Linked DNA regions of Homo sapiens: all the other regions are linked to region 1. The links are contacts of gene promoters, found by promoter capture Hi-C in blood cells and fetal thymus (Javierre and others, 2016). All regions are on one chromosome and are shown on one strand. Each heading gives the region's core, a stretch centred on a gene start or on the middle of the fragment in contact. The rest is flanking DNA. Distances are from core to core; before and after follow the strand shown. Region 1 holds the start of CGNL1 (cingulin like 1). Region 2 overlaps MNS1 (meiosis specific nuclear structural 1). Region 3 has its middle 11 kb from the start of MNS1. Region 4 overlaps LOC105370832 (a long non-coding RNA gene). Region 5 overlaps LOC105370832 (a long non-coding RNA gene).

Evidence for each region. Contacts are between HindIII fragments. The CHiCAGO score rates a contact against its expected background, and 5 or more counts as called.
Region 2: a fragment that was not itself captured here is called in contact with the fragment with the promoter of CGNL1 in region 1 in 1 of 17 cell types (naive CD8 T cells); the score reaches 5.7 in naive CD8 T cells.
Region 3: a contact is called between a fragment that was not itself captured here and the fragment with the promoter of CGNL1 in region 1, in 1 of 17 cell types (naive CD4 T cells). The highest score is 5.3, in naive CD4 T cells.
Region 4: a contact is called between a fragment that was not itself captured here and the fragment with the promoter of CGNL1 in region 1, in 2 of 17 cell types (total CD4 T cells and non-activated CD4 T cells). The highest score is 8.0, in total CD4 T cells.
Region 5: a fragment that was not itself captured here is called in contact with the fragment with the promoter of CGNL1 in region 1 in 1 of 17 cell types (naive CD8 T cells); the score reaches 6.0 in naive CD8 T cells.

The regions. Positions count from the first base shown.
Region 1 is chr15:57,374,155-57,378,603 of GRCh38, reverse strand. CGNL1 (cingulin like 1) reads right to left here and starts at 2,099. Exons shown (of 19, transcript NM_032866.5): 1 at 2,037-2,099. The HindIII fragment of the contact is 10,841 bases long and covers 1-4,449 here.
Region 2 is chr15:56,432,049-56,436,497 of GRCh38, reverse strand. It overlaps MNS1 (meiosis specific nuclear structural 1), which reads left to right. Exons shown (of 10, transcript NM_018365.4): 8 at 2,103-2,360. It also overlaps a transcript of TEX9 not described here. Among named protein-coding and RNA genes, the nearest start is that of MNS1, 31 kb to the left of the region's middle. The HindIII fragment of the contact is 916 bases long and covers 1,532-2,447 here.
Region 3 is chr15:56,474,286-56,478,734 of GRCh38, reverse strand. No RefSeq gene overlaps it. Among named protein-coding and RNA genes, the nearest start is that of MNS1, 11 kb to the right of the region's middle. The HindIII fragment of the contact is 3,468 bases long and covers 562-4,029 here.
Region 4 is chr15:56,490,886-56,495,334 of GRCh38, reverse strand. It overlaps LOC105370832 (a long non-coding RNA gene), which reads left to right. Exons shown (of 4, transcript XR_007064652.1): 4 at 2,835-3,187. Among named protein-coding and RNA genes, the nearest start is that of MNS1, 28 kb to the right of the region's middle. RefSeq lists an enhancer at 3,850-4,144. The HindIII fragment of the contact is 469 bases long and covers 1,615-2,083 here.
Region 5 is chr15:56,518,680-56,523,128 of GRCh38, reverse strand. All of the region lies in intron 1 of LOC105370832 (a long non-coding RNA gene), which reads left to right. Among named protein-coding and RNA genes, the nearest start is that of MNS1, 56 kb to the right of the region's middle. The HindIII fragment of the contact is 1,188 bases long and covers 1,862-3,049 here.

The DNA.
Region 1 (4,449 bases), core at 850-3,349:
TGAGAACAGCCTGGACAACATGGCGAAACCCTGTCTCTACTAAAAATACAAAAAAGTAGCCGAGCATGGTAGCGGGTGCCTGTAATCCCAGCTACTTGGGAGGCTGAGGCAGGAGAATCATTTGAACCAGGGAGGCCGAGGCTGCCGTAAGCTGAGATTGCACCATTGCACTCCAGCCTGGGCGACAAGAGCAAAACTCTGTCTCAAAAAAAAAAAAAAAAAAAAAAAAAAAAAAAAAAACACATAGAGGGCCACCCCCTAAGAAAAACTTAAAACCACTGATTTGTGGTCAGGTAGCAACATCAGGGTGGAAATTTTAATGCAAACATCATATTTGGGGTACAAAAGTAAATTAACCAAGATCCCCGGAGACTATCACATTACTAAAAAGGGCAGTGAAAACACATTTTCTTGATAAAATATATGACCTAATTTAGCCAATATAAGCATGGTTACATTTTCCTTAGTCCTACTTCTCTATCATTTTTAAGACCATGTGACAGGTGTCTCAGGTGTCATCTCAGATGTGCCATGTTATACACTGTGTTCTGTCTGCAGGGCTTCATCATACTTCCAGAATAAGTTTAATCTACAAAAATGGACTTATGTTAACACAAATATCAACCACAAAACCTTAAGGATGTTGTTAGCTTTGGCTTTTTGAAGGAAAATTCTCCACATTTATGCAACTCCATTATCTACGTGGGGGAGTCTCCGGAGGGTCTCCAAAAGCTGACCAAACCCTAAAGTATTTTTTCTCCTTTTAATCTGAAATCATTCCCGAATATGACAAGTCAAATTATCACTTGGTTTTCCCTGAATAGGACAACCCTGTATTATAACCTTGACCCTGACAAGGACTGCTCGGTTCTAATGCCTACACTCCCACCTCCTTGGCAGAAAGTGCCCTGGCAGTATTGACTGTAAACAGAGAGGTAGAAACAAAGGGATCTTCAGTAAAGGCACCATCTACTGTCTAAAGTTGGAAAGCACCAATCAACAGGTTCTTCAGGTGGAGAGGTGGATTAGGGAAGAGCTATGAGGACCTGAGATGAGTTCTAGATCAGGACTGATCTTGAGCCGTCCGAAGAGTGGCTGGTGGGAGCAACTCTCAAAGCAGAGGTTTTCAAACTTGCCTGCACATTAGAATCACCTGCGGCGTCTTAAAAATTCCATTGTCCAGGCTGCAACCCAGGCAAGCCGAATCCAGATCTCTGGGAGTGGGACACAGGCACCAGTATTTTTTAAAACTCTCCAGATGTGGGGCCAAGTTTGAGAACCAATGCCCGCAAAAGCATTCCCAGCGAGCTTTGAGCAACGTTTTGAGCGGCATAAGCAGAGTCGGGAGGGCAGCGGCCTTAGGGTGAAGAACACACAAAGCAAATATACAAAGTTTCAAAAATCCTGTGTAACTAACTCCAACATGACAGCCAAGTACCTGTCTAGAGGCCAAACAGTGATGCAACTTGGAAAAGTCCCGGGGAGAGCTAGAATGTGTGCTCCGAGTGAGGCGGGGGCTCTCTCGGGGATGACCTCCCTGGGCGGCGCAGTGGTCTGGAGGATCGGGGAGAGAAAGGTCACACGCCCCTTTCTTTCCAGGGGATGGTCCGGCCGAGCACGCCGAGGACTTGTGTACGACAGGATAGGTCAGAAACTGCTTCGTGTGAGTCTCTCCCAGCTGTCACTAGAGCCGGAGGGTCCAGGCAGGGGTGCGAAGGCAGAAAGTCCCTCTTCACTAAAGGGAGGTTCTGCAGGGCCTCCTCCCTCCCACCCCGCCCCGAAGCGGGTTCCCCAGGGATCGCCCGCATCTGTTCTGCGCCTGCCCTCGGCGGGGCGCGGCGCGGGAGTCCGGGTCGCATCTTCGAGCCCCAGGACACGCGCGGCGCGGGTCACCGAGAGTGGACGCGCGGACTGAGCACAGTGCACCTGGCTGAGCCCGAACCCCTGGGGGTCCCGCCGCCCTGGGCGGCCCCTAGCACCCCGAAACCCGGCTGCCGGCGCACACCCCGCCCCGCTCCAGCCCGGAGCTCACTCACCGCCGCCGCCGCCTCCTCCCGCGTCCAGCTCCCGCCGCAGCCAGCAGAGCCCGGCCGGAGTGCAAGGGCCGCGGCGCCGCCGGGAGGCCGAGCGAGCCCGCGCCCCGCCCCGCAGTCGCCGCCCGCCCTCCTGGGAGGAGGGGCAGGGGCTGGCCGGGGGCCTGGACCCGCCGGGGCTGCCGGCGGGCCCAACCCTCCCTTCAATCCGCCCGCGGCCCGTCGGGACGAACCTACCCAGGAACCCCCGCACCACCCGCCCTCGGCTCCGCTGGGCCCGGGGCTGCGCTTAGACCTCACCCCTTCCCGGAGCCGTTCGTCCTTCCACCTCCCCTCCGCCGTCACCGGGCATTTTTCTTCTCCCAGCCTCGGCCTCTCCAAATTCCTGGCCTGCAGGAAGCCCTCCCTATTTCGCGCTCTCGACTGCGCCGAGCTCAGTTTACCCCTTTCCCTTCCTTTCCCTGCTTAGCCTTTTTCCCCCTCACTGTCAGAAACTTAAGGGATAGCGCTCTTCTGCCACCGCAAACCCACACCTATTTATTGAGCACCTACTGTGTCTAGACACTGGTGGGGAGGTTATCCCACTTGCGCGGTAACAAGAAATGTCTGTCTCTGTTGGAGAAACAGTAAAGTGAGGCGCCTCGTAAGGTCACACAGCTGGCGGTAGTAGGGCTGGGATTCGAATACAGTTTTTAGGTCCTTGTTTAGACCCACCCCACGATAAACTGCGGCACGCCTCTCGCTAGCTGTGAGAACTTGGGCAAAATGTTATCAGTTCTAAACCCCAGTTCACTCATCCGTAAAATGAAAAGCTGGATACTTCACCAGCTATGAGGATTCCCTGAGAAAACAACAACCTGTACTTTTTTTTTTTTTTTTTTTTTTTGGAGATGGAGTCTTGCTGTTTTGCCCAGGCTGGAGTGCAGTAGCGCGATCTCGGCTCATTGCCTCTGCCTCCCGGGTTCAAGCGATTCTCGTGCCTCAGCCTCCCGAGTAGCTGGGACTACAGGTGGCCACCACTACGCGCGGCTAATTTTTGTGTTTTTAGTAGAGACGGGGTTTCACCACGTTGGTCAGGCTGGTCTCGAACTCCTGACCTTAAGTAATCTACCCGCCTCGGCCTCCCAAAGTGCTGGGATTACAGATGTGAGCCACTGCGCCCTGCCCAACCTGTACTTAATACATGTTTGCTGACATATTGAATGAAATAGACCCTTGAAAACTTAACAATTCAAAACAATATAAAAGGACTTGAAAAAGTAATAGGTTGGTGCAAAAGTAATTGCAGTTTTGCTATTACTTTCAATGGGAAAAGCCACAGTTACTTTTGCTCCGACCTAATAATAGTGATTCATTGCCAGGAAAGAAAGAAAAAAAAAAAAAGATGCTACTTATCCCAAGTGGGCAGCATGGTCAAGGGAGTCTTTTTGGAGGAAGCGGTATTGCACTATTCCAGAGTTAGCAGGTCTAGGTTGGGGAAGACAGCCAAGGTGATGGGGTGTGTGAACAGTGCCCAGAGGGTGGACCAGCTTTCCTGAGCAGAGGCTGCCTGGGGCAGGACACACATGCTAGAAAATGGGATGAGGCATACTAGAAAGGTGGATGGGGTCAGAGGGTGGAAAAGGCATCAAATGCCAAAGTGAGGGGGCTCAAGGCAACCAAACAGTACTTGGACACCTCAAAATGACTAGAATGGAACCTGCATGCAATAGAGGGCACCTAAATGGCCCTGGGAACCAGATGGGGGAGACCCATGGCCTAGGAACCAGCAGAGTCATGGGGTAGATGGGGAGTTGCAGCAGGGAGGGACAGGAAAGAATTTTCCAACTGGGTGCAGTGGCTTATGCCTGTAATCCCAACACTTTGGGAGGCCAAGGCAGTGGATCACCTGAGCACAGGAATTCAAGACCAGCCTGGGCAACATGGCGAAAACTGTCTCTACCAAAAAAAAAAGAAAAAGAAAAAGAAAAAAAGCGCATACACACACACACACACACACACACACACACACACACACACACACACACACACAAATTAGCCAGGCATGGTAGCATGTGCCTGTAGTTCCAGCTACTCAGGAGGCTGAGGTGGGAGGATCAACTGATCCTGGGAGGTTGAGGTTGCAGTGAGCTGTGACTGCCCCAGTGGACTCCAGCCTGGGCAACAGAATGAAATTGTCTCAAAAAAAGAAAGAAAAGAAAAGAAAGAGAGAAAGGAGAGAGGGAGGGAGGGAGGGAGAGAAGGAAGGAAGGGAGGGAGGGAAGGAAGGAAGGAAGGAACTAATGAAGGAAGGAAGGAGAGAGAGAAGGGGAAGGGAAGGAAAAGCAGAAGGTAAGGAAAAGGGGAAGGGAAGAAAAAGGGGAAGGGAAGGAAAAAGGGAAGGGAAGGGAAGGAAACGGGGAAGGGAGGGAAAAGG
Region 2 (4,449 bases), core at 740-3,239, 940 kb after region 1:
TTCTTGTGGGCATTTAGTGCTATAAATTTCCCTCTACACACTGCTTTAAATGTGTCCCAGAGATTCTGGTATGTTGTGTCTTTGTTCTCATTGGTTTCAAAGAACATCTTTATTTCTGCCTTCATTTCGTTATGCATCCAGTAGTCATTCAGGAGCAGGTTGTTCACTTTCCATGTAGCTGAGCGGTTTTGAGTGAGTTTCTTAATCCTGAGTTCTAGTTTGATTGCACTGTGGTCTGAGAGACAGTTTGTTATAATTTCTGTTCTTTTACATTTGCTGAGGAGTGCTTTACTTCCAACTATGTGGTCAACTTTGGAATAAGTGCGGTGTGGTGCTGAGAAGAATGTATATTCTGTTGATTTGGGCTGGAGAGTTCTGTAGATGTCTATTAGGTCTGCTTGGTGCAGAACTGAGTTCAATTCCTGGATATCCTTGGTTAAACACTTTTTTCTACTGATATGATTATGACTTTTTCTTCTTTAGCCAAGTATATTACATTGATTTTTGAGTATTGAACCAGTCTTGCATCCCTGTAATAAACACTACTTGGTCATGGTGAATAATTCTTTTAATGTATGATCTATTTTTCTAATATTGGGTTAAGGATTTGTGCATCCATATTCACGAGGAATATTGGTCTGTAATTTTTTATATTGGTAGCGGGGTAATACTATCTTCATAAAATGAATGGGGATATGTTTCCTCCTCTTCTGTTTTCTGGAAGAGATTGTGTAGAATTCGTGTTAATTTTTTAAATATTTGATAGAATTTTCTAGTGAAACCATCCTGACTTGGGGTTTTATTTTGGAGGAATTTTAAGTTATTAATTCCGTCTCCTTAATAGTGATAGGACTATTCAGATTACCTTATTTCATATTTGGTGAGTTTTGGTAGCTTGTGTTTCTCAAGGAAGTGATCCATTTCATCTAAGTTGCCAAATTTATGTGTGTATAATAATTTGTAGTATTCCTGTATTATCCTTTTGATGTCTGTAGGGTCTCTAGTGATATCCTATGTTTTATTCCTGATATTAGTTATTTGTTTATTCATTCATTTTTTTTTTCTAGGTCAGCCTTGTTAAAGGTCTGTCCATTTCACTGATAATTTTTAAGAACCAGCCTTTTGTTTCACCAATAATTGTCTATTTTCTATTTTTAATTCCATTGATTTCTACAGTTTTATTATGTTTTTCCTTCTGCATATTTTGGGTTTACTTTACAGTTCTTTTTATAGGTTCTTGAAGTGGGGGCTTAGATTATCGATTTGAGACTTTTCCTACATACATGCATTTAGTGCTATATATATACATTTTCCTAAATGTATCCATTTAGTGCTATAAATGTTTCTCAGAACTGCTTTAGCAGCATCTCACAAATTTTGCTGTCTCACTTTTATTAACTACAATGTATTTATTTTCCTTGGCATTCCCTCTTTGGCCCATGAATTATTTAGAAGTGAGTGACCATTGTAAAATTATATTTTTTAGTATGTATGAAATTTTTCATAATAAAATGTTCAGAAAATAAAAGCTTATAGGAAAGGACTTAACTGTTCCAACTATATTTGAATTTCCCTAAAGAAGTACTGATTGTCATTGCTAGATAATTGTTTTTAAATTTTAGAGAATTTTGGAGAATGAAGGGAATATTAGAAGACTAGAGATGGGTAAGTGCAGCTTTGATTTTGAGGAGGAGGTTGGAAACTGAAAAATACTTATGGGTGGTTTGGACAGCTTTTGTAAGCAAGATTCTAGAATGATTCATAGTTACCATAGACTTTAGATGAATAAACTCAGGTGTGCAAAAAAGGCTTTTGTAACAGCTCTTTCCAAAGCAGTTACGTGTTAATTCTGAGTAGAGAAACAAGATGGTAAATATAAATTAAAATTTGTTCATGAGTAACAGAAAACAATCCAAATGTAAGCATATTCTTTATCCAGCTAGTTTTAAAGGGATGGACAAAGTTATCATGAAAAGCCTTACTTTTTCAGTTTGTATGATTTCATATTGTAATACTAAATTTAACCAAACTCTATCACTCTTTCCTTATAAATCTGGTGTAAGGAAATAGTTACTAAATTAACTTTCAGCTGTATTGTTTAGGAAGAAGCAGAAAAGAAATTGAGAAAGCAAAAAGAGATGAAGCAAGATTTTGAAGAACAAATGGCCTTGAAGGAATTAGTGCTACAGGCTGCAAAAGAGGAAGAGGAGAACTTTAGAAAAACTATGCTAGCTAAATTTGCTGAGGATGATCGAATAGAATTAATGAATGCTCAGAAACAAAGAATGAAGCAGCTGGAACACAGGAGGGCTGTGGAAAAACTTATTGAAGAGCGTCGCCAACAATTCCTTGCAGACAAAGTAAGAAAAAGTTGTGGGGTTTTTTTGGTCATTATCATTAAACAGCAATAGCTCATCTATCATCCACTAAACATTTACTGAGAAGCTTTATATGCCAGACAATGTTAGTATGTTTACTAATATATATATAAATTTTCTGACCATTTTTGCTTCTAGAAAATATTTATTGATGCTTTCTATGTGCTAAACACTGGTTGGTATTGAGAACATAAAAGGTAAATAAAACTAAGTCCATGTCACTTATGAATTTATGGTCTTGGTTAAGAAAAATATATAAAAAGTAATTATAAATATGTCATGTACATGTGATAATAGGTTATAGAGCTATGGATGTTTTGGTATGGCAGAGAGAGAAACAGATCATGAACACCCTGCATGCTATTTTAAGAAGGTGGGCTTTTCTAAGGGAAGCCACTGAAGATTGAAAAGCTGTATATTAAGATCTGTACTTTGAAAGACGATTCAAGTGAGAGCATTGAAGGTAGATAAGAGATGAGTAAGCTCGGAGATAGGGAGATCAGTAAGTAAGTTATTATAATAATCCCAGTGACAAGTGGTGAAACCCATGCAAATAGATAAGGGATCCACCCGAGAGATGTTAAGGATACGGAATTGATGGGGCTTGGTGACCAGTGAGATCTAGGGTGAGAGAAGACTTAAGGCTACCCCTAATAAATAATACTGTCATTCCATCTTTTTAATTATTTTTTTAATATTTTTAAGTTCCAGGATGCATGTGCAGAACATGCAGGTTTGTTACACAGGTATACATGTGCCATGGTGGTTTGCTGCACCTATCAACCCGTCATCTAGGTTTTAAGCCCTGCATGCATTAGGTATTTGTCCTAATGCTCTCCCTTCCCCTTGTCCCCCCCACCCCCCGACAGGCCCTGGTGTGTGATGATGTTCCTCTCCCTGTGTCCATGTGTCACTTCCATCTTTAATGGGTGACTGGGTGACATCCTAAGGAAAGAGTATAGAGGAAAAGAAATAGATTTTGAGGGTGCAAATAATTCTATTTTGTCCACCCAAAATGATTTGGTGGCCCAGGGGAAGATTACTAGTTGGAAATGTAGATTTAAGTGTTGGAGAGGGAATGAAGTTTTTGGCTTTGGATACATTGACTTATTTATGTCTCATCCGTAAAACTAAATACTTATATTGTCTCACTAGATTTTGTGGTTTAAGAACCAAATGGATAATATGTAGGTGTTTTGAAAATCGGTAGGAAGAGAAGAATTTAGAGGAAGACTAAGTGAGACTTACATGACTTCTTTTAAAACTATACAAAGTAGGAGTCAAAATAATGCAGATGTTTCAAATATGAGAAACTCATGGGAATACAAGTGCTGTTATATTTCAGATTGGAGCTCATCTGTTCTCAGAAGCTAAGCAGGATCAGGCCTGGTTAGTACTTGGATAGGAGAAAGCTCCTGGAAAAGTTAGCAAGACAACTAACTAGAAATCAGACTAAAAACTAAATGGAAATCAGATAAAGCCACCTAATGCATAGATACTTATACAAATAATTTTTGTCTTAATTTTTAAAGACTTATAAATGTTCCCAATATGAAGCTGTCGGCTTAGTTTTGTCCGTTTGATTGGGCAACATTTTTGTTCTGGCCCCAAGTCAAGGACAGATCTTCGTGATGAAACTCATTATACAATCCTATAAGGTCTAACCATGTTTTTTGGATTTCAGAGACATTCCTAAATAGGTATCTGTAATTCTGTCTACCTCTACGAAAATCATACGGTCAGACAAAATCTGAAACTTCCCAGGAGGTAGTTTCCTACACCAAAGCTATTCAGAATTTGTCCTAAATGGATAAGTTGATTTCGTAACTGCCTAAACAATTTAATTTACTATAAATTTTTCTTTTTAGGATAAACATTGAATGTGGCCTGCCAGATCCTTCTTAGGAAAATCTGCATTAGCCCAAAGTAGACTCTACCATTGGACAAAAATGTATCAAGTTTGCTTTCCCCTGTAACATTACAGAACTTTCCTGTATCTCCTCTTTATAAGGAATGGATGAATTAAGATAGAATTAGGTTTGAATGCAAGTACAGTCTCAAATTAACAGTG
Region 3 (4,449 bases), core at 1,046-3,545, 900 kb after region 1:
TAAGAGTTTTATACTTTTAGCTGTTATGTTTAGCTATTTGATCCATTTTGAGTAAATTTTTGTATATGGTACTGTAAGGTAAGGGTCCAACTTCAGTCTTTTGCATGTGGCAGGTGTAGTTTTACCTAAAGTTCCACAGATGTTTCTGGTTTGAGAACCACTGTGTTATGCTAGTGATATCCAGCCAGTTCCCTCTTCCAAAGATCATATGATGCATGTGTTTTTTTAAAAAGAAATTGATGAAGGGGCCATGCACAGAAACTATTTTTGTACAAAATTCACATATGCTAACCAGATTATGTTTGCTATTTCAGGTTTATTTAAAATGTGAAATAACTGCTGCCCACACTGATGACATTCTCATATTTTTTCTGCTTTTTCTCCATCTACTAATTGTCTCAGATATCTCAAACAAACAGCAAGAAAAAGATCAAGCCAATAAACAGGCATTTGAAAAGTGGCCCTGGGTTAGTTACATAGTTGCGTCCTGGAACAACAACAACAAATCCTCCTGGGGGCTATATCTGCATCATAGCCTCACAGTGCTCTCTAAATAAAGCTTCTCTAAAAATGAGCTCACAATCTAAAATTACAAAATCTAGAGGAAATAACCATCAACTGTGAGTGTTGGCAGAAAAATCTAACAGCAAAATTAGACATTTGAGAGTTTTATATAATGAACTTATCAAATACAATACACTTTGTTTAATCTGATTAAGGAAAAATAAAAATTATAAGAAAGATAAATGTATTTCTACTTTAATATAGTATATTTTAGAATCAACATGCTCAAGGTAAATTGAGCTAGAAAACTTTCTTTCCAGATTACAAGCCTACTCCCCATCCCCCAAAATAACTAAGAATATTATTAGAATTATTGCAGTGGAGATTAATTTATTAATGAGTAAAACCTATGAGTAAGACCTCTGAATAAAATAAATTGATAAAGTTAAATTCCCAAGGCAAGAAAGTGGCTCTATCTTAGAGCTTTCAGAAACAGACGCACCCTGCCAATACCTTAATCTTTGCCTAATAAGGTCTAGGTTTGACTCCTGAGCTACAGAACTGTAAGATAATCAAGTTGTGTCATTTTAAGGTATTAAAAAATTGAATTCCCATTTAGGATGAAAACTCTTCATAAATATGGGGAAACGGGGAATAAAACACCTACAGCATGAAAAGCAGTTTATAGCATGCAACCTTTATACTACTACATGTACAGTATGATCTCCTTTCATTAAAAAGTAAATATATATGTATATACTGTAACTCTCTAAGGTGTTAACTGTAATCTCTGAGTGATAGAAACATAGCATTTTTAAAAATATTTAGGTATCTATATAGCCTAACTTTCCACAATGCACATATATTGCTTTTCAATAATAAAAGAAAAAACAAAACTACAGCAAACATCATACTTCATAATGAGATGTCAAACATATAAGTCAAAAATACACCTATTAATTCTTCTATTTATCATTTTCTTATAGGTTCCAGCTAGCCCAATGAGGGAAGAAAAAAACTTAAAATGGAGTAAGAGGAAGGAAAAGGACAATAATAAAAAACTCAAGCAGAACAGAGCCCTCAGAAATAATGCCGCATATCTACAACCATCTGATCTTTGACAAACCTGAAAAAAAAAGAAATGGGGAAACGATTCCCTATTTAATAAATGGTACTGGGAAAACTGGCTAACTGTATGTAGAAAGCTGAAACTGGATCCCTTCCTTACACCTTATACAAAAATTAATTCAAGATGGATTAAAGACTTAAATGTTAGACCTAAAACCATAAAAACCCTAGAAGAAAACCTAGACAATACCATTCAGGACATAGGCATGGGCAAGGACTTCATGTCTAAAACACCAAAAGCAATGGCAACAAAAGCCAAAATTGACAAATGGGATCTAATTAAACTAAAGAGCTTCTGCACAGCAAAAGAAACTACCATCAGAGTGACCAGGCAACCTACAGAATGGGAGAAAAATTTTGCAATCTACTCATCTGACAAAGGGCTAATATCCAGAGTCTACAATGAACTCAAACAAATTTACAAGAAAAAAACAAACAACCCCATCAACAAGTGGGCAAAGGATATGAACAGACACTTCTCAAAAGAAGACATTGATGCAGACAAAAGACACGTGAAAAAATGCTCATCATCACTGGCCGTCAGAGAAATGCAAATCAAAACCACAATGAGATACCATCTCACACCAGTTAGAATGGCAATCATTAAAAAGTCAGGAAACAACAGGTGCTGGAGAGGATGTGGAGAAACAGGAACACTTTTACACTGTCGGTGGGACTGTAAACTAGTTCAACCATTGTGGAAGTCAGTGTGGTGATTTCTCAGGGATCTAGAACTAGAAATACCATTTGACCCAGCCATCCCATTACTGGGTATATACCCAAAGGATTATAAATCATGCTGCTATAAAGACACATGCACACGTATGTTTATTGTGGCACTATTCACAATAGCAAAGACTTGGAACCAACCCAAATGTCCAACAATGATAGACTGGATTAAGAAAATGTGGCACATATACACCATGGAATACTATGCAGCCATAAAAAATGATGAGTTCATGTCCTTTGTAGGCACATGGATGAAGCTGGAAACCATCATTCTCAGGAAACTATCGCAAGGACAAAAAACGAAACACCACATGTTCTCACTCATAGGTGAGAATTGAACAATGAGAACACATGGACACAGGAAGGGGAACATCACACACCAGGGCCTGTTGTGGGGTGGGGGGAGGGGGGAGGGAGAGCATTAGGAGATATACCTAATGTTAAATGACGAGTTAATGGGTGCAGCACACCAACATGGCACATGTATACATATGTAACTAACCTGCATGTTGTGCACATGTACCCTAAAACTTAAAAGTATATTAAAAAAAAAACTCAAGCCAGTTTACAGATAAATGATTAGAACTTAAAATGAAGTTCAGCAAGATTAGCGGATATAAAGTTGACATACAGAAATCATTTGCATTCTCAAGACACCAGCAAAAACAGAAACTTAAGTTTGAAAAAGATACAGTGGTGGACATCTACTTGCCCCTCCAGATTTCCCTCCACCCTTCTCTACACTGGTGGTGCCTTGGAAGACTGGCTGGCAACTAACTGTCTGTCTTGCTCTTTGAGCTCTCATTGGGTTTAGCTTGTGGTTGCATCATCAGAAGATCCAATGAAGGAAGAAAAGAAGATGAGGTTTGTGTTGCCTCAACTGTCCCTCTGAGGTTGTTCTTGGTGAGCTGCATCCTTTGACCAAAGTTCACAGCTGCCATCAAAGGGGTCTCTTCACATAGCTCTTTCTATCTTTGGGCTCTAGAAAAGTGCCTTCTCCCCTTTCCCTTAGACTCAGGAGTAGTGATATTTCCCCAAAGTTACTGGCTCCTGGGTACTGTACAATTCCTGCTGATCTCCTTAAACCTCGTCTGCATCTTTTTAAATGACTCACTTTGAGGGTACTGTTTCCTGTTTCGACCCCAAATAATAATATAGATATTATTTATGACAGCAACAAATAATTTAAAATATCTAGGAATAAATCTAACAAAAAAGCATGAAATCTTTATAGAGAAAATTATAAAACTTAAAAGACATTTTTAAAAGACAAAATAAAGATGCACCGTGTACATGAATAGAATTTAAATTGTTTGGCTTTTTAAAAGTTGATACATAAATTCAATTAAATTCCAATAAAGTTCTCAACAGTTTTTTCCATGAAACTTGACAAGGAAAATCAAAATTTATATAGAAGAATAGAGGGCAAAGAATAGCCAAAAATGTTCAGAAGAACAAATTAAGGTCTTGCTCTACAAGGTAGCAAGTATTATTATAAACAGATCATAATTAAAACAGTATGAAATCAGTACATTATAGATTAATAGGGAGAGATAGTGGTGCAGGGACCTTGTTATCCATATGGACAAAAGAGTAATAAAATTGGACACCTACCTCACATTATCCAAAATAAATCCCAGGTGAATTAAAGGTGTATTATGAAAAGCTTTATGATCTGAGATTAGTAAATGATTACTGAAGGCAAAAAGCAGAAAACATAAAATGATAAATTTGACTATATTAAATTTAAAGTTTCTGTGCATTAATAGACATTTTAGAGAAAGTAAAAATATAAGTCATAGCTTGTCAAAGACAAAGTAGATGTACATGTACTACAGTGGAATATTCTCACAAACATGGTGTCTAAAGAGATTTGCAGAAATATGACTCCATCTTATTACAGCATGCAAAATAGTATCACATATCTCTTACAAGTTGAAAGTATAAAGGCATGCACAAGAATGATAAACACTATTAAATACAGTACAATGTTATCTCTGGGTGGAAGAAATGAGACAGGAGAGGTGCTCTGATGCACAGAGCCAGGTTCCACATTTTTTCTTGTGTCAGATTATGGATACATGGGTG
Region 4 (4,449 bases), core at 600-3,099, 880 kb after region 1:
GGGAAGCCATAAAGCATGCCATATTAACAATGCCAGCCTGTGTGCTGAGTGTAGGGTGTGCCTGTTTGTTGGACTCGCAGATCATGTTATTCCAGAGCAATTGCTTTATCTGGATGAAAGGGCAAAACCGGGGCCTGAGACTGGTTTCCAGGCAGCACTGTTCACCATGTCTCATGTTGACAGATAAAGCACAAACTTACCTCTGAGGATCCATGGCTTTCTGTCTTACCTATTAAACCAGACCTCGACCAGACTCTGGGGAATGAAAGTCTAATCTCTCAGGTAGAAGGGCTTAAAGGAATCTTATATCCCTGAACTGAGGACAGTTAAGTTTCTATGACCACCAGCTGAGTACTGGAATTACTTTTCCAACAGCTGGATGATGGGAACTCTGAACAAGATACCCCAAGTGTCATGGCAAGGGTAAAGCCTCAGATTGTGGGTGGCCCCATAAGAAGTGGGGAGCTTTCATCCCAGTTGATCAGGGCAAGGAAGGTCTGTGTTTGACAAGTGGAAAGCATTGTAATGAAACTTGTTCCTACTTAGCTGAGAAGGAGGGTGTAGTCACGGAGGACTCTCAGCCAGCCCAGCCCAGTTTTCTCAGTTTATGAGAAACAAAAATCCAAGAAGTGTCCTGATGGTTGTCCCTTCTCAATAACTACTGCAATTTCTGCTTGGGAGGCATAACCAACAACAAGAAAACCAGGACAGCTCTAGGAGATGGGTCACTGCAGGCTCCAGGCCCAGGGCAGGGCATCAAGGGCAAGGGCTGCAACATCAGTAGGGCTGCCATCCTGTGCACATCCTACCCATCTTCAAAGCTTAGTGTAACCAACTACTCTCCCTTTTAGCTCTCCCTTCCCTCCCTGGACCACATGCAGCTCTCCCTCTTCTGATCTCCTCTTACAATGTGGTACAATTAAGCAATTTATTATATTAGTCTCATAGTCTAATTGTTCCTTCTATGTTGTGTTACCACAATGAGATCACAATTGTGTCTTTCATTTCTTTGAAATCAGAACACACAAGATCAGATATGTGGTAGGTATTTAATACTTAACCTAAATTAGAGAATCAGAAAAATGACTTTGGGGAAACATTTATATAGCTTCTGCCTTTAACACAATAGAAAACAGATCCAGAGAACTGCTGCTCTATTTGTTCTACAAGCATCTAGTGAAACTTCCAAGCCACTGTGCTGGGTGCTGTAGGGGGAGACAGAGATGCCCAAGAAAGGAGCACTGGCCTCACAGACCTTTCAGTGAGGCATGAGAAAGAGTACGTGTGCACCAGTTATCAAAGATGGAAACCCATGTGGAAGGTGAAAACAAGGCTGTGGAATCTCAGGTGAGGGAGGTAGTGGGTCAGCTGAGAGACTCAGATGATTTTATGGAGACAGTGGCACCTGAACCCAATCTTGAAGGATTTGATATGTGGGGTTTGGGGAAGAGTACCCAAGTTTGAATGCATTTTGGCCTTTACCAAGCTTTAAGTCCAATTTAAAACCAGACCACAGAGTCATATGTGCCAACTGTGATTGTGGCTACAATTCATGCTGAGTGCTATAGTTTGAATGTTCCTCCCTGACCCACCAAAGTTAACATGTTGAAAGCTTGATTCCCAAAGCAATGGTGTTGGGTGATGAGGCCTAATGGGAAGTGTTTGGATCATGGGGGCTCTGCCCTCATGAATGAATTAATGCGGTTATGGCAGGAGCATGTTCCTTATAAAAAGACGAGTTTGGTCCCTCTCTCTCTGTCCTTCTACCATGTTATGACACAGCAAGAAGGCCCTGGTCAGATGTCAACACCTTGATCTTGGACTTGCCAGCATCTAGGAATATGAGACATAAATTTCTGCTTTTAGCCAGTCTTCTCAGGTATGCTATGTTATAGCAGCGCAAAACAGACTAAGACACTGAGCCTCCAGAGGGCTTACTGAAAGAACACTTTGATCTGCCTGAATTGGAGCTCTTCTTGATGTGGCCAACCCCAGCTCCCCCATAGAAAGAAAGCTGCCTCTCTTCTTGTTTCTAAATTTCACTAGTCCCCTATTATCCACACCCCACAAGTGCAGGGAAGCTTCCAGTCCCACTCTCCTTTGGCAGAGTCAGGCAGAGACAGGGCACTGACCCCACCTGGTCTCGCCCCAGCACGTTAGACCGTGTGTTTACTCTACCTGCTGCAGTCCTGGCCCCCACTCTATTTTATGTAGGGTTCAAACTGTGCTCCTGGAGTCTGGGCATGAGTGCTGGCCACTTCTCTCTCAATTCAGCCCATACTCTGCCTCTAGAGTTTGCACTTCATCTGGAGGGATGCCAGGTGGAGCCTATTTCTGAGAAAAGCCACAGTGGTTGAGCAGTTCAGACAGCACAGACAGGAGCAACCTAGCCCTCTGCAGCTCAGACCTCTCCTCTTAATTCCTTACTCTTCCTTGGGGTTGGCTTTCCACAGCCCTCCAGCCTGAACAGCAGGTTCCAGACAAGTCAGGACACCCTTGTTTTCTCTCCCTGATGCTGCCTGGAACTCTGTCCTGCCCCACCTCTAGGAGTAGCAGCTCCAGCCTTGTTCTTGATTCTGCTCATCTGGCTCACCCTCACTGGGCATCTCTAGTGGCCAAAGAAAGTCTCCACGCAATATCCTTTTTTTTTATTTCTGTTTGCTTGCTTTTATCTCCCTTTTCTTATTCCCTTAGGATTTAGAGGGAGAGGAAAAGCATGAGGGTGCCAGGACAGCAGTATGGGAGGCACAGAGGAGTACTGGATAATGCACTGCTTTTTGCAAACTCAACTTAGAAGACTGCCCAATCAACTTGCTATTCTTTCTTCTTTCTAGACATGAGTCTTCAGTCTCCTGCCCTCAGCTTAGCTGGAAGCTGGATGACAGCCACATTAAGAGGCTTTCTGCAAGTGGCTTTTGGATGAAAAGGGGGCCTCTCAGGTACTCCACTCTCACGTTGCAGGCTCTGCAGCAGCTGGTCTATCTGGTGGCACTGGGAGTAAGTAGTATGGGAGACCCCTCCATGCCGGGGTCCCCTGGAGTGTCCTCCTCATAGCGTGAGGGTTCTTCTCAGGGATACTGAGGATAATTCACAATGGCTTTGTAGTTGCAATATTCTTTTTTTATTTCTTAAGTTTCTGTGTCCCAAATTTTAGTACAAATAAACATTTATATACATGGCAAGAAAATATGATCCATGCTAATCATTTAGTAAATGTGTGATTTCTTGTGATTTCACCTTGTCTAGTGTCACCCTCTTTGAGGCAGGGCAATCAATCAGGACATTAGCCATTTACTCTCCCTCACCTTCCAGCTACTCCTCACTCTTATCATCCGACTTTGAATGGGAGCCTCGCTCCTTCACCCTGAGCCGTCCATCAAGACCCAGCACTAGGGCCAGGTCTGGTGACGGTGGCCAGACTGCTCACACTGCTGCCCCAGAACATCCAGGTACTTTTAAACACTACTTGCTTAGGGCTTTCTGTGGCGTTGGACTGACTGAAAAGGCTAGGGGGGTGGCCATAATTGGTCCCACAGGCTTAGTATTTGAAAGTGTGGGTAGTAACCTCTAGACTCCCGGCCTGATGATGCGAGAACCTCAAGCTCTGAAAACTGGTGGGTCCAGGACAGCCCAGCTCCCGGCCAGTCTGATTAGGTGGGAGGGGAATAGAACAGGATCCCACCTGGTCCTTCTCTACCTCCATCCCCAGAAACCCCATCAGGGGTTGTTAAATATCTCAGATTAGCTCACCAATAAGTCTCAGGATATATTCACTGGCGAAAATGGCATGAAATGCACAGACATTAAGTTCTTAATATTTATCTTCTCCAAAGGGGTTTAACATTACTAAAAACTGAAAATAAACTCAACATAGCTTGCATTTTAGAAATGGTCCTGTAGATGTGTGATAAAGATGATCCTTTTCAATCTGCTAAGCAAATGTTTTAGAATCTGTGAACCCAAGGCTAATTCAGCCAGAAAGCGTGTTCTGCAGATTGCAAGCCTTGGCTCCCTCTAGTGGCCCTGACTGAGCCTTCGTTCCCGGCTTAAAATGCCCAGGACTTAAGAACTGTATGGGGATTTCAAAGCTCAGCTCAGCTAGCACCTCTTCCTTTTAATGCTCTGGTGACTCTTGACTACATGTATGTCCTCCCAGTATGAGCAACTTTGTTATTTTCTGTTGCTAACAACTAGCATTTTTTATATTCAGTTTATAAGTGAATTGTTTCTTGTGTATTTTCTTTCCCCCCAAAAAGTCACAATTGTGTCTTCGAAATGGGAAACACAGTATCAGGCATACAATACTAGCTAATACTTTAAATTTAGGAATTATAATATTAGAGTTAGTAGAAATGTTTGTATGTTAAGAAAGCTTCTCCTTTCACAAAATAAGAAACAGATCCGAGAATCACTGCTCTGTTCATTCCACGAGTGTCTGTCAAGTGAAAC
Region 5 (4,449 bases), core at 1,206-3,705, 860 kb after region 1:
TTAGATAGTTATAGGAGTGCAGCTTTATTACTAGTTTCTCAATTGTGTTCCATTGGTCTGTGTGTCTGTTTTTGTACCAGCATCATGCTGTTTTGGTTACTGTAGACTTGTAGTGTAGTTTGAAGTCAACTAACATGATGCCTCTGGCTTTGTTTTTTGTTTTTTTGCTTAGGATTGCTTTGGCTTTGGGGCTCTTTTTTGGTGCCATATGAATTTTAGAATAGTTTCTCATAATTCTGTGAAAAATTATGTTGGTAGTTTGAAAGGAATAGTGTTGAATCTATAGAATACTTTGGACAGTGTGGCCATTTTAATGATACTGATTGTTCTAATTCATGATCATAGAATGTTTTTCCATTTGTTTGTGTCATCTCTGACTTCTTTCAGCAGTGTTTTGTAGTTCTCCTTGTAGAGATCTTGCACTTCCTTGGTTAGATATATTCCTAGGTATTTTTTGTGTGCATGGCTATTGTAAATGGGATTGTGTCCTTGACTTGGCTCTCAGTTTAAATGTTACTGCTGTATAGAAATGCTACTGGTTTTTGTACATTGCTTTTGTGTCCTGCAACTTTACTGAAGTTATTTGTCAGGTTTAGGAGCCTTTTGGCAGTCTTTAGGGTTTTCTAGGTATAGAATCATACCATCAGTGAAGAGAGATAATTTGAATTCTTCTTTTCCTATTTTCATGCCTTTTATTGCTTTCTCTTGCTTGATTACTCTGACTAGGACTTCCAGTACTGTGTTGAATAGAAGCAGTGGAGTGGGATTGGGCATCCTTTTCTTGTTCTTGTTCTCAAGGATAGTGGTTCCAGCTTTTGCTCATTCAGTATGATGTTGGATATGAGTTTGCCATAGATGGCTCTTACTATTTTGAGGCATGTTCTTCAATGCCTAGTTTGTTGAAAGTTCATAGCCACTAAGGGATGTGGAATTTTATCAAAATCTTTCTCTGCATCTATTGAGAAATCATATGGGCTTTGTTTTTAATTCTCTTTATGTGGTGAATCAAATGTATTGATTTGAGTATGTTGAACCAAACTTGCATACCATGAATTAAGCCTACTTGATTATGGTGAATTACCTTTTTAATGTGCTGTTTGATTGATTTGCTAATATTTTGTTGAGGACTACTAGGTTCCTCAACATAGGTTGCATCTATGTCCATCAGGGATACTAGCCTGTAGTTTTCTTTTTTCATTGTGTCTTTGCTAGGTTTTGGTATCAGGGTGATGCTAGCTTTGTAGAATAAGTTAGGGAGGAGTCCCTTCTCCTTGATTTATTGGAATAGTTTCAGTAGAATTGATACCAGTTCTCTGTACATCTGGTAGAATTGGATATGAATCCCTCTGGCCCAGGGCTTTTTTTGGTTGGCAATTTTTTTTTATGATGGATTCAATTTTGGAACCCTATATCGATCTGTTTGCAGTTTCAGTTTCTTCCTGATTCAATCTTGGCAGGTTGTGTGTTTCCGTTTCCTCTAGATTTTCTAGTTTATGTGCATAGAAGTGTTAATAATAGTCTCTGGGATCTTTTGCATTTCTGTGGGATTGGTTGTAATGTCACCTTTGTTGTTTCTGATTGTGCTTATTTGGATCTTCTCTCTTTTTTCTTTGTTAATCTAGCTAGCATTCTATTGATCTCGTTTATCCTTTCAAAAGACAAACTCTTAGTTTTGTTAATTCTTTGGATGAATTTTTGGATATCAATTTCCTTCAGTTCTGCTCTGATTATAGCTTTTTAAAAAAATTTTCTGCTAGCTTTGGGCTTAGTTTGCTCCAGTTTTTCTAGTTCCTCTAGATGTGATGTTAGATTGTTAATGTGAGATCTAACTTCTTTATGTAGGTGTTTAGTGTGAAAAGCTTTCCTCTTAACACTGCTTTTGCTACATGCCAGAGATTCTGATATGTTGTGTCTCTGTTTTCAGTTACTTAAAAGGATTTCTATTTTTGCCTTAATGTTGTTGTTTACCCAAAAGTCATTCAGGAGCAAGTTGTTTAATTTCCATTTAATTGTGTGGTTTTTGAGGGATCTTCTTGGTATTTATTTCTATTTTTATTCCACTGTGGTCCAAGGTAAGTTGGTATGATTTCAATTTTTAAAAATGTGTTGAGACTTGGTTTATGACCAAGCATGTGGTTGATCTTAAATTATGTTCCACATACAGATAAGAATGTATATTCTATGGTTGATGGGTGAAGTAGTCTGTAGATGTCTATTAGGTACAATTGGCCAAATTGATTTAAGTCCAGAATTTCTTTGTTAATTTTATGTCTTGATGATCTAACACTTTGAGTGGGATGTTGAAGTCCCTCACTATTAATGTGTGGATATCTAAGTTTTTTCATAGGTCTAGAAGTACTTGTTTTATGAATCTGAGTACTCCAATATTAAGTGCATATATATTTAGGATAATTAAATCTTTTTGTTGAATTAAACCTTTTATCACTGTGTAATGCCTTTCTTTGTCCTTTTTTACTGTTGTTGATTTCAAGTCTATCTGATACAAGAATAGCAAACCATGTTCTTTTTTTTTCCTGTTTGTTGTAATAGATCTTTCTCCAATCCTTTCCTCTGTGCCCATGGATATCATTAAGTGTAAGATGGGCCTTTTGAAGATAGAAGATGGATGGATCTTGCTTTCTTTTTTAATTTAACTTGCCACTGTGTGCCTTTCTGATGGGGCAGTTAGACCATTTACATTCAAAGTTAGCATTGCTATGTGAGGTTTTCATCCTATTGTGAAGTTGTTAGCTGGTTGCTTTGCAGTATCTATTGTGTAGTTGCTTTATAGGGTTTGTGGACTATGTACTTAAGTGTGTTTTTGTGGTAGCAGATACAGTTCTTTAGTTTCCATGTTTAAAACCTTGAGGATCTCTTGTTAGGGTGGTCTAGTGGTAAAAATTTACCTTAGTAGCTGCTAGTCTGGAAAAGATTTTATTTTTCCTTTGTTTATGGAGCTTAGTTTGATGGGATATAAAATTCTTGGTTGGAATTTGTGTTCTTTAAGAATGCTGAGTAGGCCCCCAATCTCTTCTGACTTGTGTAAGCTTTCTTCTGCTAAGAAGTCTGTTGTTATCCTGATGAGGCTCCCTTTGTAGGTCATCTAACCTTTTTCTCTAGCTGCCCTTAGGATTTTTTCCTTAGTGTTGACTTGGGGCAGTCTTGTCACTTTATGCCTTGGTGATGATTGTTTTGTATAGTATCTTGCTGATATTATATGTATTTCTTGTACCTGGATGTCTACCCGTCTAGCAAGATTAGGGAAATTTTCTTGGATTATTCCCTCAAATAGGTTTTCCAGGTTGTTTACCTTTTCTCCTTCTCAGGAATGCCAATAATTTGTAGATTTTTTCACTTTATATAATCCTACCTTTCTCAAAGACTTGTTTATTTTTTAAAATTCTTATTTTTTTTTTCTGAATGGATTAGTTTGACAGATTGATCTTCAAGCTCTGAAATTTTTTCTTCTACTTGGTCTACTCTATTGATAAAGTTTTCAATTGTATTGAGAAATTCCTTATGTGAATTTTTTAAGTTCAGAAGCTCTGATTGATTTTTTAAAGATGTTTATCTCTTCCTTCATTTCCTGGATTGTTTAGAAGTTTCTTTGTGTAGATTTTCAACCTTGTCTTGAAATTTATCGAGCTTCCTTGATACCCATGCTGTGAATTCTTTATTTGTCATTTCTGAATTTCCATTTTGGTTAGTGACCATTGCTGGAGAGCTAGAAAGATCTCAAATTAACAAATAGTGTCACAGTATTCAGATTTTTTCATGGTGCCAGAATTTTTATGCTGGTTCCTTCTCATCTGGAGATGTTGGCACTTTTAAGTTTTGTAATTATTTTCATGTGGATAGAATCCTTTCCCTTTTCCTTTCCCTTCCCTTTTCCTTTTCCCTTTCCTTTCCTTTCCCCTTTCCTTTCCTTTCCCCTTTCCTTTCTCCTTTCTCCTCTGTCTCCCCTTTCTCCTTTCTCCTTTCCTTTCCTTTTGTTTCCTTTCCTTTCCTTTCCAATATTATTATTGTTTTTCTCCTTTGTTGTTTTCTTCCCCCATCCAAGGGAATGTGACTATAGAGAATGTTGGGTAGAGTCTTTTGGCTTTGCTTCTCTAGCCCTGTGTATTTCTGTGAGCTGGTTTCATATTGGACTGTGTGGTTCAACCTAGAGGCTTGTAGATAGCTAGTAAGAGCTGGCTGTGGCCAACACAGGGGTATATATTTGATCCTTGTTTACTGAGAGAAGGTCTCAGTTGCTACAGGCAGTGGGCTAATCTGTGAAGTACACAGTGGTTTGAGCTCTCTGCTCAACCTCATAGAGGGGGACCAAGATGGGTGGGACCAGACTGAACAGATCCACCTACAGGTTACCCAATGGCAGGCCCAAACACCAGCGCTTGAGGGAGGGTCCAGGGGGTGGCCACCAAGTGTCCAGAGGCATGCCTAGTTTTG